3 separate regions of the Homo sapiens genome follow, and all the other regions are linked to region 3. Evidence: promoter capture Hi-C in 16 types of primary human blood cells and fetal thymus (Javierre and others, 2016). All regions are on one chromosome and are shown on one strand. Each heading gives the region's core, a stretch centred on a gene start or on the middle of the fragment in contact. The rest is flanking DNA. Distances are from core to core; before and after follow the strand shown. Region 1 overlaps DENND3 (DENN domain containing 3). Region 2 overlaps DENND3 (DENN domain containing 3). Region 3 holds the start of CHRAC1 (chromatin accessibility complex subunit 1).

Region 1 (4,373 bases), core at 1,278-3,777, 650 kb before region 3:
ATGGAGAGAAGAGCTTCCTAGCTGTCGCCCAGTTCATCATGAGTTTCTAAGCACAAGGTATTTCCCATTGACTTTCTCATTTACTCATTCGAATAAAACTGAGGTCCTTGAACACTGTGATTCCTAAAGAGCTGCAGATCCAAAACACAACAGTGAAGCACCTGTCCTCCTCCGACTGGGTGTCGAGGTCCATCTGAGCAAAGGCGTCCATCCTCCTATTGAGCCGGGCTTTAAGAAAAGAATGGAACATGTAGGTGTCTAAGACCTGGAAAAGAGAGAGGGGCTGGTCACTGGGCTGTGCCGACTCCCCAGGTCCCTGCTCCAAAGCCCCTGAGCCTTCCTGGCACAGAACTGGGCATCACCACTCACACCCAGTGGATATTGACTGAGTGAATGAACTCGAGGGTTTTCTGCTCTTCCTCATTCACACAGGAGAAGAAATGGCTGCCATACATTCACACACTGGGTCCCACATACCCACCCCATGAACAAAAGAGTATTTCATCATAGCTACAAGAGGTGGACACAAGCTTCTGGCCATAAGGCAGTAGACAAGGCTCAGACATATCCTCCTGACATAAACTATGAGGAAACTCGATAAAAAAGAGGAAACGACTGTTTTCAGATGCTGGACGAGAGGCAGGCTCGTGGCTGGCGCAGCTCCAGCACTGAGGGCATGGAGGGAGCTCACAGAGGCTGAGGCAGCTGGAAGCCTCGGGCAGGGCTCTGGAGAGGAGGGAATGATACAGGGAGCTCCCGGAGCCTGCATCAGGGTCTCCCTAAGCCTTTGCTGAATACCCCGCTGCCCAGTCATAGGGCGAAACCGCATCAAACCAAAGAACGACTGGGAAGCTGTAAGCAAAACAACTCTCCAAGCTCACAGGGCAGAGAGCCAGTCACGCTCCCAACAGCCAAGGCGGAGGGCCCTGGCTGACCCCTCAGCCATTCAGGAGACACCCGGGGCAGGGTACGTCACTTAGCAGATGGGTTAGGCTATAAACCAACCCTAGAGAAAGGCTGTTCTCGGCCCACCCCAAAGCTGTAAAAACAAACCCCCAAAGGATCAAGGGGCTCTTCAGGCAGCTTCAATCGCCTGCCAGGGCAAAGCCCCCAAGGTGATTATTTTTTTGTAATAGTCACAAATGGAAACAACCCCAATGCTCAGTAGCAGGTGGACAGAAGAACAAAGCGCACTCTGTCCCAACCACGGGACATTCCTAGCAAAAAAAGGAGCCGCCGCTGAGACACACAGTAGCCCAGCTCGGTCCGAGGCAGGAGGCTGAGGGAGAGAGGCAGACAGAGCGCAGACCGCAGGACTGCACAGCGCAAGACTCTGAGATGGGCCAGCCGTCTACGGGGATGCACACAGGTAGAGTTGCCAGGACCTGGGGAGGGATGGGGCAGACTGGAGCCATGGAAATGTTCTATGTCCAGGTTGAGGAAGTGGTGATACAGATATGTACATTTGTCAAAATCCATCAAACCACACACTTAAAATGGCCATATTTTAAGTAAATTATACTTTTTTTTTTTTTTTTTTTTTGAGACGGAGTCTTGCTCTGTCGCCCAGGCTGGAATATAGTGACACCATCTTGGCTCACAGCAACCTCCACCCCCTGGGTTCAAGCAATTCTCCTGCCTTAGCCTCCTGAGTAGCTGGGATTACAGGCGTGCACTACCACACCCAGCTAATTTTTGTATTTTTAGTAGAGATGGGATTTCACCATGTTGGCCAGGCTGGTCTCGAACTCCTGACCTCAGGTGATCTGCCCGCCTCGGCCTCCCAAAGTGCTGGGATTACAGGCATGAGCCACTGTGCCTGGCCACAAGTAAATTATACTCTTAAAAAGCTGATTTTTTTAAAAAAGAGGGAGAGCCACATGGTCAAAAGGAACCATGCTAAAACAAACTTTTTGGAAAAGTTGATACACTTGAGAACACTTATTTTGAAAAGTATTTAAATACAGAAAAGGATAATGGATTGAACACACACAGGCACACCCAAATCCCACAGCTCTCACCTGCTTATAAAACTGATGGTCCCCTGGAGCCCTGGTTTTGAGAAATTCTTCACTATTAAAGACTCTGTGTTCATAGTTTAAATGATTCTTTACATCCCTAACAAAGAGAAAGAGAGTCTGAGTGCTAAAACTTTCTTAAATACATGAAAAATATACCACTTTTAGTAGCAGAGAAATGGTTAGAAGAGATACGAACTTTGAAAAAGCCATGTTCTTCAGAAAGATTCTTGATTACCAAAATGATACGATGTGGATGTATTTTGTGGTCAAGCATAAATTTCCCCCAGCTAGAACGAAAGTACAGGAGGCAGTGTTCCTGTTCTCACCTTCCTCCAGCCCACTAGTTCCTTATGCAAATTAAGACACAAAAGTCAGTTGCGGTCCACACACATGAAACTGAGTTCAGGGTGGGGAGCCCAGAGGGGCAGCCAGACTCTCCAAGTGCTGACCAGCTCGGCCGCCAGCCTTCCCGGACAAGTCACTTCACCTCTGTGTTTGTTTGTCTGTTTGTTTGTTTAGACGGGGTCTTGCTCTATGGCCCAGGCTGGAGTGCAGTGGCACAATCTTGGCTCACTGCAACCTCCACCTCCCAGGTTCAAGTGATTCTTCTGCCTCAGCCTCCCGAGTAGCTGGGACTACAGGTACACACCACCATGCCTGGCTAATTTTTATATTTTTAGTAGAGATGGGGTTTCACCATGTTGGCCCTCAGGTGATCCACCCACCTCGGCCTCCCAAAGTGCTGGGATTACAGGCGTGAGCCACCGAGCCCGGCCCACTTCACCTCTTTGTACCCGGTTTCCTCAGATCATGTTACAAACTCGCGATTTTAGCACATGATCTCCCAGATCTAAAGTAATATATAAATAGAATGAATAACCTTACAGGGCATACTTAGTACGTAATGTGTTCAGTGTTTTCTTGGAGAGAATAAATTATTTCATCTAGGGGAAATAAAGTTTTATCATATGTAATCATATTTTCTGCCTCTTTTTTTTAAAGAGCCGGGATCTTGCTATGTTGCCCAGGCTGGTCTCAAACTTCTAGGCTCAAGGGATCCTCCCACCTCAGCCTCTGGAGTGGCTGGGACTATTCTGCTTTTCTGTCAACTCATTGAGTTTGTAAAATATTAAGAAATTAAAAAAAAATTGTTCATAAGATATTTCATCTTCAAAGAACAAAAGGAAAACAACATATTTAGGACCCCACTAATTATGCCTCTTTGAGCAGAGATAATATCACATGTCTGTAATACACCATCCCATTTTTTCCTAATAAATTATTCGCTTTATGCAAACAAATACATCAAAAGAATAGGCCATTCAGGCTGGGCGCTATGGCTCACACCTGTAATCCCAGCACTTTGGGTGGTCGAGGCAGGAGGATCACCTGAGGTCAGGAGTTGGAGACTAGCCTGGTAAACATGGTGAAGCCCTGTCTCTACTAAAAATAGAAAAAATTAGTTAGGCGTGGTGGTGGCAGGCGCCTGCAGTCCCAGCTACTTCAGAGGCCGAGGCAGGAGAATTGCTTAAACTTGGGAGGCGGCAGTTGCAGTGAGCCCAGATGGCGTCACTGCATTCCAGGCTGGGTGACAGAGTGAGACTCCATCTCAAAAAAAAAAAAAAAAAAAAGGCCACTCAAATTTCCATTTTGAAATAATCACGCAGAGTACGATCAAGCCAGCAGGCTCTGTGCTAACCACCTCCCAAAGCGGAAGGCCCCTCAAGAACAGAGGAGGCCAGCATCGGGGGTGCCTCCTTCACTGCTGGACTCAGGGAGCAACCAGCAAGAAGGAGAGGAAGAACACTGCCAGAGAAAAGGAGAAAGGGTGGGAGAAGCCCAAAGGCTTTTGCATTAAAAAGTACTTATCTATGAAGCTATCATTTTTGCCATACATTCCTTAAGTGACTGCCTATTTAGGCCAGAAATAGCAACTCAATACCTGTACTGTATCACACTGAAATAAACACACTTGACTTGTCCACTTAACCAATTCCAGCTCAGGTGCTGGGGAAGCAATAGCATGCAGGAGGTAGCTAATGCTGTAATTAGTGGAATGAGGAGAAAGAAAACTTGCTAACAGGCACATCTTGAGTGCCCCACCCGTCCTGTGGCTCTCCCATAGATGGTTTCATGATCTAGCTTATGAGTCACATCAAAATGGCCTGTCTGTCCCTCACTAGCCCCTGGATGCAGGCCTCTCGGGACAGAGCCCTCCACGGACTGAGCCAGAGCCCGGAGCCAGCACAGGCCAGAGTGACAGGTGCTCCCTGCAGGTTTATCAGATTTGCGTCTTCCTAGAGGGCTGTCCCAAAACAGCCACCTGCAGGGGGTCACCAGGAGAGGGCGTTA
Region 2 (4,886 bases), core at 37-2,536, 670 kb before region 3:
CCGTGGAGCGGTCGTGCCAGCTGCACACCTGTCACTCAGCACTTCACCTCAGAAAGCAACAGGCACCTTGTCCCCACTTATCCCGTGACACTGGCTCCCCTTTCACTTCAGGGCTGACCCTGAACCCAAACCTAAGCGCATCAGATTGGCTGAAAACTGGCAGCGAGGCGCGGGCAGAGGGGCCTTACCTGGAGTGTAGAGCAGCACGTCCACCGCTTGTGGGAACGCCTCCCCCGCCGAGGGGTTGATTTTATGCTTCAGTGTTTCCAGGGTTGTCTCCGGAAGCGTCATGGGCACTGAAAGACAAGACACTTGGAGTGTTACTGTTGCAGCCTCAAGGAAACAGACGCGATGCAACGGCCTCACGCACTCTGATTTCTGCAGAATATCAGCTTGCAGGTAAAACTTCCTAATTTGTGAAGACGAAGGTCTCTTGGACCCGGGGCACTGAAAGAAAGCCATGCACCCTCGGCCTCCTTTCCTGGTTGTCACCTGGTGTGCGAGTGAGTGGCCAGGCGCATCCCCCACCTGTGTCCACACCACACCTCCATGCCCCTATGCCTCGAGCTGCCTTTGTTTAAACACAGCCTTCTTCTCTGCTCCTGAGCCATCCCTTGTGATCTCTAGCTACACCCAAACATGACACAGTGCCCAGCAAAGCGGAGATATAAAATTCTCCTCAATAACGAAGCCCTCCCAAGATGAAACCCAGAGACCTAACCCATGAGCGCGGTTTCCCAGCCTAGAACCAGGGGCGTGTTGGGCTGGATAATCCTGGCTGTGGGCGAATGCCCAGCATCCTGTGTGCCATGGGATGTGGAGCATCATGAGATGCCAGTAGCACCTCACACACAACCACAGATATCTCCAGGTGCTGTCAAAATGCCTCTCCGCAGTGAGGGGGTGCAACATCGCCCCCCGTTCAAAACCACTGCTCCTCAGGATATCCTAATGCTCCTCTTGCTATCCAATCCAACCCATGTTTCCAGGCAAAACCTAAAGCGGCCTCCTGCCTGGAGGCCCCCGGGCACAGCCTGCTCTGACACGGCTCCTCATTGCTGCCCGGAGGCCCCTGGGACCAGCCTGTTCTGCGGTCCCTCCTGCCAGCCCCTGCGGGCGCCTCGACCTCCTGCGTCCAGGACTCCCTCAGTCCCTGCCGTCCAGGGCCTGCCCCTTAAGTGCTTCTCTTCCATCATTTTGTTACTGTCATAGCAACCTGATGAGATTGGTCCCGTTATCCCCATTTTGAAAAAAGAAAGATGAAGAAACCGACACACGTCGACATCCGTGATCAAATGAAGATCACACTGTCAGCAAGGGGTCGACCAGGACTCCGCACGAGGCTGGCGGGCTACACCGGGCTGCGGTGAAAGCCAACTGGCCGCGGCCAACGCCTCTTCAGCTCCTGCCTCGGACTATGACATCTTCGGGTATTATTTAATTCCGTACAGTCTGAGACCTTCCATCATGAGTTGGCCATAAGCTACTAAATTAAGCTCAGGCTCATGTGTCCTGAGCTTTACACATGGGAAAATGTTTCCGGATTTGTAACGAGGGAGCGGGAGCCAGCGCACCACACCAAGTGACACCAGCATGGCGGCTCCTCGTCTGCCGTCATGCGCTGATAACAGAGGCGTTAGAAGGCTTTCCTGTAAACGCCCGACAGAGATTAGGCATGAGTTTGGAATGAGATCAACAGCTGAAGTAGGGGGTTTGTTTGATTTTGCTCCCAAGGAAAAAGAAAAGAGCAATCAATGTCTGGTTCCAGGACTGTCAGACAAAAGCTCCTTCAAGCCACTCAGCTGGCCTTGCAGGAACACAGGCACCTGAGCCCGGCTGCTGCTGCAGCTCAAGGTCCCTCTGGGTCACGTGGGAGAGGGATTCTGTACCCAGAAAGTGGCAGAGGTCCTGCAGTTGGTGACAGATGCCACAAAGAGAGCAAACTGTGCCCAAGGAAATAAACACGTAAGTGAGGTTTGTTCCTAATTCTGCGACTTTTTAAAAAGCCAGAGTCCCCTAGATCTACGCCCAAGGGAAATGAAAACAGATGTGCACACCAGAGCTTACACATGAATGCTCACAGCAGCCACAACACAGAGGCCACGCCAGTGCTCACTCACTGATGAAGGGACAGACCAAACGTCCTTCACCCAAACGGTGTCTATCACTCAGTCACAAGAAGACCAGAAAACCCTAGGCTTGAAGATCACCTTTCACAAGAAAAAAATGGGAGTCCAGCACCAGCCTCTATGGCTTCCAGAATGCGAGAGCCAGATGCAAATCTACAGGACAGTCAGAGGATTCCTGTCTGGGGAAGCTGACCCAATCAAGAAAAAAGCGGATCCTGACGTGCAGGGCCTCTCCTCACTCATGCAGCGGTGAAGCCCGTCAGTCAACAGGCCAGCTGTGTAGACGTTCCCAGCTTCTCAGCAGGTGTGTTCCTAACTGCAAGTCCCAGACACCCGCTCCCCACCAGTCAGAGATTCCAGGAGCCGCTCCACAACCTCCCACAGGTTTCTAGTCTGCTTCAGCCAGCCAGAGGAAAGGCTGTTGTTTGTAATTACGAATCACCACAAATGCTTGCAGTGTACATTGCAATGCTATCCAGACATTAAAACGACGAGGTGCCTCAATTGGATGCGCAAGGGGCTCCAAGGTGCACTGTGCAGTGAAGGAAGGAAAGATGCCGGATAAGGTGTGCGACTCGAGAGTAAATTACAAATATAAAAGAAAAAACTGGGGGAGCTGGGCTCGGTTCTACTTGATAAAACAGACATCGACCAGATAAAATCACTTAAGGCGTGTAATCAGGACAATGATCCACGCTAAGAACGGGCTTATCTTACTTTCGTTACTCATCTTATCAAAGTAGGATAACTTGGAGGCAGCGTAGATGGCGCCTGGTGACTGCAGTGTGCCCACGACGGCGTCCATCAGCAAGACGTTGGTCAGCGCCTGCTGGACGTAGTGAGGGTCCTACAACAGAAACACGTGCGTTTCAAAACAGCAAGAATCACTAAGATCAGTTCACCGGAGACCTTGTTGCAACACACAGGACAATCCTTCCAAAATGCCTTTTTCCAAAGTGACATGAAGAGTTTAGATCACGGATGAATTTGGATTTTATGTCATATATTTCTTCTCTTACTTAAGACAAATATTGATTGTTTATACCAGGGCTCAGCCAGTGTTTTCTAGAAGGGGCTAGGCAGGAGGCATTTCAAGCTTTGTGGCCAGTCTCAGCTGAGATCACCCACTGCCTGCCACTGCGGCATGGGAGCACCGAGGGACATTTCATAAACAAACAGGCAGGACTGTGTTCCAATAAAACTTTACTTACAAAGACAGTCCACTGGCCCACGGGCTTTGGTTTGACTATGCTGGTTTATGCTATGTAAACCAGTGGGTATAGCATCAGATGGCTAGTCTAAAAGCCACAGGGCACTGGAATCTTAGAAAGGACCCAGTCCCCCTCTGCCCTGTGACCGGGAACTTCCTGTAATAACAGCAACCCTCCCGCTGTGGCCCCATCTGTTCCTCCTAGCACTGCCACTGTAGTGGGTGCCATCGTCCCCGGCATTTCTCTGAGGATTAGTGGGGCTACACACCTCTTCATAACCTGGTGAACTGTTCCCTTTCTGTGAGTTCCGCGTTCATGGTCTTTGCCCATTTTCTAAGGCGTCTTCCTGTCTTGTGCCACCCTTGAGCAGCGTGGATGCCTCCTCTACACACCACCGGCCCATGGTTCCCTTCATTACTATGCAATTGTCATTTGATATCATCAAAGCTATCAATTTGGCCCAAAGTAAATTAAGGTACAACAATCCCTAGAAAAATCATCTCAACCCTGTGGAAGGAAAGCAGTACTGCCCCTGCCGAATTCCAAATCCTGTGACTGTGAAGAGTCGCTCAGAGCAGGGAAGCCCAAAACACCCAACTCCGGCCTGCGGGTGTGGACAGCACCAGCACCGTCCGCCCCCGGGAGGCCCCACTCTCTGGGATGTCGCCAGTCTGGAGCGGGCAGTGGGGCACCCACACCTGCCCAGACCGCCCTGCGTTTTCTCATCATGCTCTTCCGTAGCACCGTGAGGCCTCTCGCTGGGTCACACAGACCACATCTTCAATGCTTCTGTCAAGATGGTGTCCGACAAACTTACTCTGCTTAAGACACTCAGACCCGAGCCCGAGCACTCACAGCTGAGGACTGCCACAGGACCCACAGGTGGCGAGAGGCCCCTGAGGCAGCCACAGCAAAGGGCAGAGGGGACCCGCGTCTCCCACCTTGTGGTCATCGGCCAGCTTCTTCCCAGCCCACATCTCCTTCACCATCAGGTGCCAAAGGTCACACTCGGTTTTCAGGTTGGCTTCGAAGACTTCTTTCTTGGACGCCACTCTGATTTTTAAAGTGGGTATTCTCCGAAGTAGAAATGTAGTAGTGGTTCTCCTGACCTCCTGCAGAGGCAGAAAAGAAAAGTTAGGAATGTCACACTCAGAGAACACGTGGATTCACCAGAGACAGAGGCAGAGCGGGCTCTGGAATGAAGAGGCAGATGGGCTGCAGGCACGCATCCTGCTGGCATGTGGAAGGCAGGGCCCCGGGTGAGGGGCAGTGTTCCCATGGACGGCAGGTAGGATTCACCTGCGGTGCGGCACCTACACCCACCCACACAGCTGGGCTCGCCCAGTGTCCGAAGGCAGCGCATTCTTTCACATCCTTAAATACTTCTCTCTCCCTCTTTTTGTTTTTTTTTTTTTGTTTTGTTTTTGTTTTTTTTTACTTCCATCTCCCTTTCCTTATATTTATTTACATTTCTTTGGAATTCTAGAAGGAAGTCTGGAAAAGCAGGTGTGGAAAAAAGCATAAACTGAAGGCCAACAGCAAGAGG
Region 3 (4,764 bases), core at 1,659-4,158:
TAAATTACAAGAAATCACTGGGGAGGCCAGGCGTGGTGGCTCACGCTGGTAATACTAACACTTTGGGAGGCTGAGGCAGGCGGCTCACTTGAGGTCAGGAGTTTGAGACCAGACTGGCCAACATAGTGAAACCCCATCTCTATTAAAAATACAAAAATTAGCTGGGCATGGTGGCGGGTGCCTGTAATCCCAGCCAGCGGGAGGCTGAGGCAGGCGAATCGCCTGAACCTGGGAGGTGGAGGTTGGAGATTGCAGCACTCTGGCCTGGGTGATCAAGCAAGACTCCGTCTCAAAAAAAAAAAAAAAAAAAAAAAAAGAAATCACTGGGGAAAAGAAAAACATGAGGTCAGAAAGAAAGCAAAGCCAGTATCAAAATTGGCGGAGAAGCAGGCATTTTCCAGAGGCTTATTTTAGATGTCTAACTTACGAAAAAGATGAATCGTAACTGTTTAATGACCAACCTCTAGAGTAAAAGAAAGAAGCGGCCGGGAGCTGTGGCTCAGGCCTGTAATCCCAGCACTTTGGGAGGCCAAGGACGGCGGACCAAGGATGGTCAGGAGATCGAGACCATCCTGGCTAACACGGTGAAACCCCGTCTCTACTAAAAATAAAATAAAAAAAAAAAACAAAATTAGCCGGGCATGGTGGCGGCTGTAGTCCCAGCTACTCGGGAGGCTGAGGCAGGAGAATGGCGTAAGCCCGGGAGGCGGAGCTTGCAGTGAGCCGAGATCGCGCCACTGCACTCCAGCCTGGGCGACAGAGCGAGACTCCGTCTCAAAAAAAAAGAAAAAAAAATAGAAAGTAGCAAAAAGCCATTCAAAAATTCTATTTGGCTCAGGAATACCTTTTTAGTCTTCTATTTGCATACACTGTTTCTAAGGTGGTTCACCTACAACTATAGTGACCACAGCTTACATTTTGCCAAAACTTTTCTATTCTAGGAACTGACATACAACCCTCAGACCTAATGAAACAACCGGAACTGATCTTCTCCCTCCTGCATCCCAGTTCTTATAGCAGGGCCAAGTCTTCATTTTTACAGAGGCTGAACTGAGCCTCTTTCTCAAGGTTTTGACTTTAATGCATCTAGTTCAGTTAATAAGGGATGAGAAAGACGGGCGTGATGGTTCACGCCTGTAATCCCAGCACTTTGGGAGGCTGAGGCAGACGGATCACCTGAGGTCAGGAGTTCAAGACCAACTTGGGCAACATGGTGAAACCCTGTCTCTACCAAAAAATACAAAAATTAGCCGAGTGTGATGGCAGGCACCTGTAATCCCAGCTACTCAGGAGGCTGAGGCAGGAGAATCATCTGAACCCGCGAGGCAGAGGTTGCAGTGAGCAAGACAGTGCCACCGCACTCCAGCCTGGGAAACTCCATCTCAAAAAATAAAATAACGGGTCAGAAGTGCCTGCATAAATCCTCATTCCTTAATACCAATAGAATGAAATTGTATAGGAAAATACAAATGTCCCCAGATGAAATGCTGAATATGCAATTATTTCCCTGGGCTCTAGGAAAACATGGCTCTGACATAAAGCGGGCAAGAAACCTGTAATTTCCCACTTCCCTTAGTTCTAGTCCAACACTGCAGGGACATCATATACTTAACTACAAGTAGGGACTGGAAAATAGAATCCAAGACAAGCTAAAGCATTTAACTGTGTAGCTGAAACATGGCCCAGTGTCAGAACAGGAAAACATCTGGCCTAACACTATCGAGACGCAATTTTTTTAAAAAAAGACAAAATTATCTATTTTGCACCCAGGAGGATGCTAAGCAGGCTGTAAAACTTAAGTTCCCCGGACTTCCTTAAATTCTGGTTGGGGAATGTGCTGCCTCTTAGACGAGGGGCCCCAGCTGTGGCGGGCGGGAGGGCTCGAAAGCCTCGGACCGCTGGAGCTGGCACCGCACGCGCGGGAAAAGAGCCTCGAGTCGCGGGTGAAGCGCCCGGCTGCCCCTCCCACGGGACACTGGAGGAGTTAGGGCCCTCAAAGCACGAAGCAGTCCAGTGACAAGAAAAAGGCAGGCCGGGAGTAGGGAGTCGCGGGTGAAAGAGCCCCCAAAGAACCCAAATGAGAAGAGCGCCACTAGGCGCCGACGCCCACGGGTAGGGCCGGAAACTGAGCGCCGCACGCGAGGGAGGACGTGAGCGCACAGGTGGGAGGGACGAAAGGCGCGCAGAGGAACGCGGGAGCTTACGGGTTTGCCGAATGGAAGCGCGAGAGAAACGGCGGGAGGACAGTGGGGTGGGCGGGGCGAAGGTGCGCACGGAAGGAAGGGGCGGGCGGAGCGAAGGAAGGCGACAAAGGGCGGGAGAGGCGCGCGGTAGGCGAGGCGAAGAAACTGGAGAACGTGAGGGAGCGGCGAGGGGTGGGCGGGGCGAAGACGCGCGAGAAAGTGTGGGGGCGCGCGGGCACCGAAGCGCGCGCCGGCGTGGGACGGGGACAGCGGGGCGCGCGCGAGCCCGGCAAGAGCAGCCGGCGGCGCGCGGGCCTAAGGGGACTGGGCAGTGCCCAGAGCCCGGCGGGGCGGGGCGCGAGGGGTAAGGGCGGCCCACACCCCCGCCCTGCCCCCTCACCGTGGCCTTGGCCGTGAGCACCAACGCCTCCTGGTTGATGCTGGACACCTCGGGGGAGCTCTTCATGATGACCCGGATGCGGGATAGAGGCAGCGAGATGAGCCGCTGCTCCCCGCCCTTGTCTTTACCCACGACCACGTCCGCCATCTTCCCGCCCGTCGCGCGGGTGCCCGCAGCCGGCGGGCCCGACCGCGAAGTGGCTGCCCTGCCCGGCCAGCTGGTGGGTACGGGGAGCCGCGCCCGCTGCCCCGTGGGAGTTGTAGTGTGGGGAGGCGAGGCCGCGAGGCCGGGAGCGGCCCGTCCGGGAAACTACGAGCTCCGTGAGGCCTCGCGCCCCCGATCTGCGCATGCGCCGACGCTCGGACACCGCCCCCGAGTGCGAGGCCCGGCGCGGAACCGGCAGCCGAGAGCCTGGCGGGGGCGGGGCGCACCGCGCCGCTCCCGGGAGTCTCCGGGCTGCGGTCGCGGAATACGACTTTGATCCGCGGGTGAGGGCTCTGTGAATGGGCAAGCAAAGCCCTCTGACTCCGGGCCTCGTGGCTGGGTGCTGTGTGTTAAGCGCCTGCGCTGTACTAGGACCGGGCGTGCCGCCGTCGGCAAAAAGTGACGCTTTCTTGAAGCACAAAGTCCAGGGGGGACGACCAAGCGGACAGCGGATGCGTCCTGCGCCGGTAGCCAGGCGACCGGTGGAAGAGCAGAGTCCAGCGCGGGCGATGCGGCGGGGCCAGGCTTGCTGCGCCGCGGGGTGATTGGGAGAAGAGCCTTCCTGCGGGGTGGAGGACGAAGAGCTGCCCTGAGGAGGTCCCGGAGTCTGGTGGGAACGGCCTCTTCGGGACTGCTCCGAGAGACGGTGTGCAGAGCCTGGCGTGCTCGCCGAGGTCTGACAGGCAGCCCGGGGCTAGGTCCTGTTGGATTTTTTTTTCTAAGGAAAATGGGAAGTGGTGGTAGGGTTTGAGCAGTGGAGTCCCGGGCAGTTTTAAAAGGATCCCTGCAGCTGCCGGCTGGGAGGGCGTGGGTGCGCGTAAGGCCGGAATCACAGAGACCAGGTAGAAGATGATTACGAGAACCCAGGAACGTGGCCCTCAGGAGGCCGGCAGTACCAAGGGGACAGCAGCTGGGAGGAGAGAGGCAGGAGATGGTCAGGGGCCAGACCAGGGAAGGCCGCGGAGACCGCAGAATTCGCTCTGAATGAGTGGGGAGGCCCTTGGAAGAGTAAGGGGTCCAACTTAACTTTTTTTTTTTTTTTTTTTTTTGACACAGAGTCTCGCTCTGTCGCCAGGCTGGAGTGCAGTGCGATCTCGGCTCACTGCAACCTCCAACACCCCGATTCAAGCAATTCTCCTGCCTCAGCCTCCTGAGTAGCTGGGATTATAGGCACGCGCCACCCAGCTAATTTTTTGTATTTTTAGTAGAGACGGGTTTTCACCATGTTGGCCAGGATGGTCTCGATCTCCTGACCTCGTGATCCGCCCGCCTCGGCCTACCAGAGTGCTGCGATTACAGGCGTAAGCCACCGCGCCTGGCCACCAACTTAACTTCTGCCAGGATCATGGGAAGTGGTAGGGTTTGGGGTCTGATTTCAAGAGGGAGCTGCTGTGGAGTATCAGCACAGCTTACTGAGATATCAGAAAGGCCTTGGTAAAGAGCCCTTTACTGAGACAGGGAGCACATTTTGGCAGAGGTTTGAATTGGAGCGTGTTAAGTGTAGTGTCTTCTTCACCACTGTGACGTGAGGTCCTGGCGCAAATAATTGAGCACAGAAATACATGTCAGGCATTGCTAGGCACAAGGGTACAGCCAGTGAGCAGGGCTGCCATGGTCCCTGCCCTCTTAGAGCTGACCTTCAGGTCTGAGGGAGACTGAAAAATAAGTAAGAATACCTCCAGCCGGGCGCTTTGGCTCACGCCTGTAATCCCAGCACTTTGGGAGGCCAAGGTGGGTGGATCACCTGAGGTCAAGAGTTCGAGACCAGCCCAACCAATATAGTCAAACCCCATCTCTACTGAAATTATTAAAATTAGCTGGGCGTGGTGGTGGGCACCTGTAATGCCAGCTACTCGGGAGGCTGAGGCAGGAGAATCGCTGGAACCCAGGAGGCAGAGGTTACAGTGATCCGGGATCGCGCCACTGCACTCCAGCAGCCTGGGCGACAGAGGGAGACTCCATCTCAAAAAAAAAAAA

Evidence for each region. The method cuts DNA at HindIII sites, captures the fragments that hold promoters and counts their contacts. A CHiCAGO score of 5 or more calls a contact.
Region 1: a contact is called between a fragment that was not itself captured here and the fragment with the promoter of CHRAC1 in region 3, in 1 of 17 cell types (M0 macrophages). The highest score is 5.3, in M0 macrophages.
Region 2: a fragment that was not itself captured here is called in contact with the fragment with the promoter of CHRAC1 in region 3 in 1 of 17 cell types (neutrophils); the score reaches 8.9 in neutrophils.

Annotation. Positions count from the first base shown.
Region 1 is chr8:141,161,078-141,165,450 of GRCh38, reverse strand. DENND3 (DENN domain containing 3) reads right to left here. Exons shown (of 23, transcript NM_001352890.3): 10 at 2,022-2,118; 11 at 162-265. Among named protein-coding and RNA genes, the nearest start is that of DENND3-AS1, 33 kb to the right of the region's middle. RefSeq lists a silencer at 507-801. The HindIII fragment of the contact is 3,989 bases long and covers 533-4,373 here.
Region 2 is chr8:141,176,157-141,181,042 of GRCh38, reverse strand. It overlaps DENND3 (DENN domain containing 3), which reads right to left. Exons shown (of 23, transcript NM_001352890.3): 15 at 4,282-4,452; 16 at 2,847-2,976; 17 at 189-296. Among named protein-coding and RNA genes, the nearest start is that of DENND3-AS1, 48 kb to the right of the region's middle. RefSeq lists enhancers at 2,267-2,316, 2,327-2,416. The HindIII fragment of the contact is 3,883 bases long and covers 1-3,227 here.
Region 3 is chr8:140,509,466-140,514,229 of GRCh38, reverse strand. It overlaps CHRAC1 (chromatin accessibility complex subunit 1), which reads right to left and starts at 2,908. Exons shown (of 3, transcript NM_017444.6): 1 at 2,584-2,908. The coding sequence starts at 2,730. RefSeq lists enhancers at 1,846-2,155, 3,216-3,425, 3,436-3,515 and a silencer at 2,196-3,205. The HindIII fragment of the contact is 9,156 bases long and covers 1-4,764 here.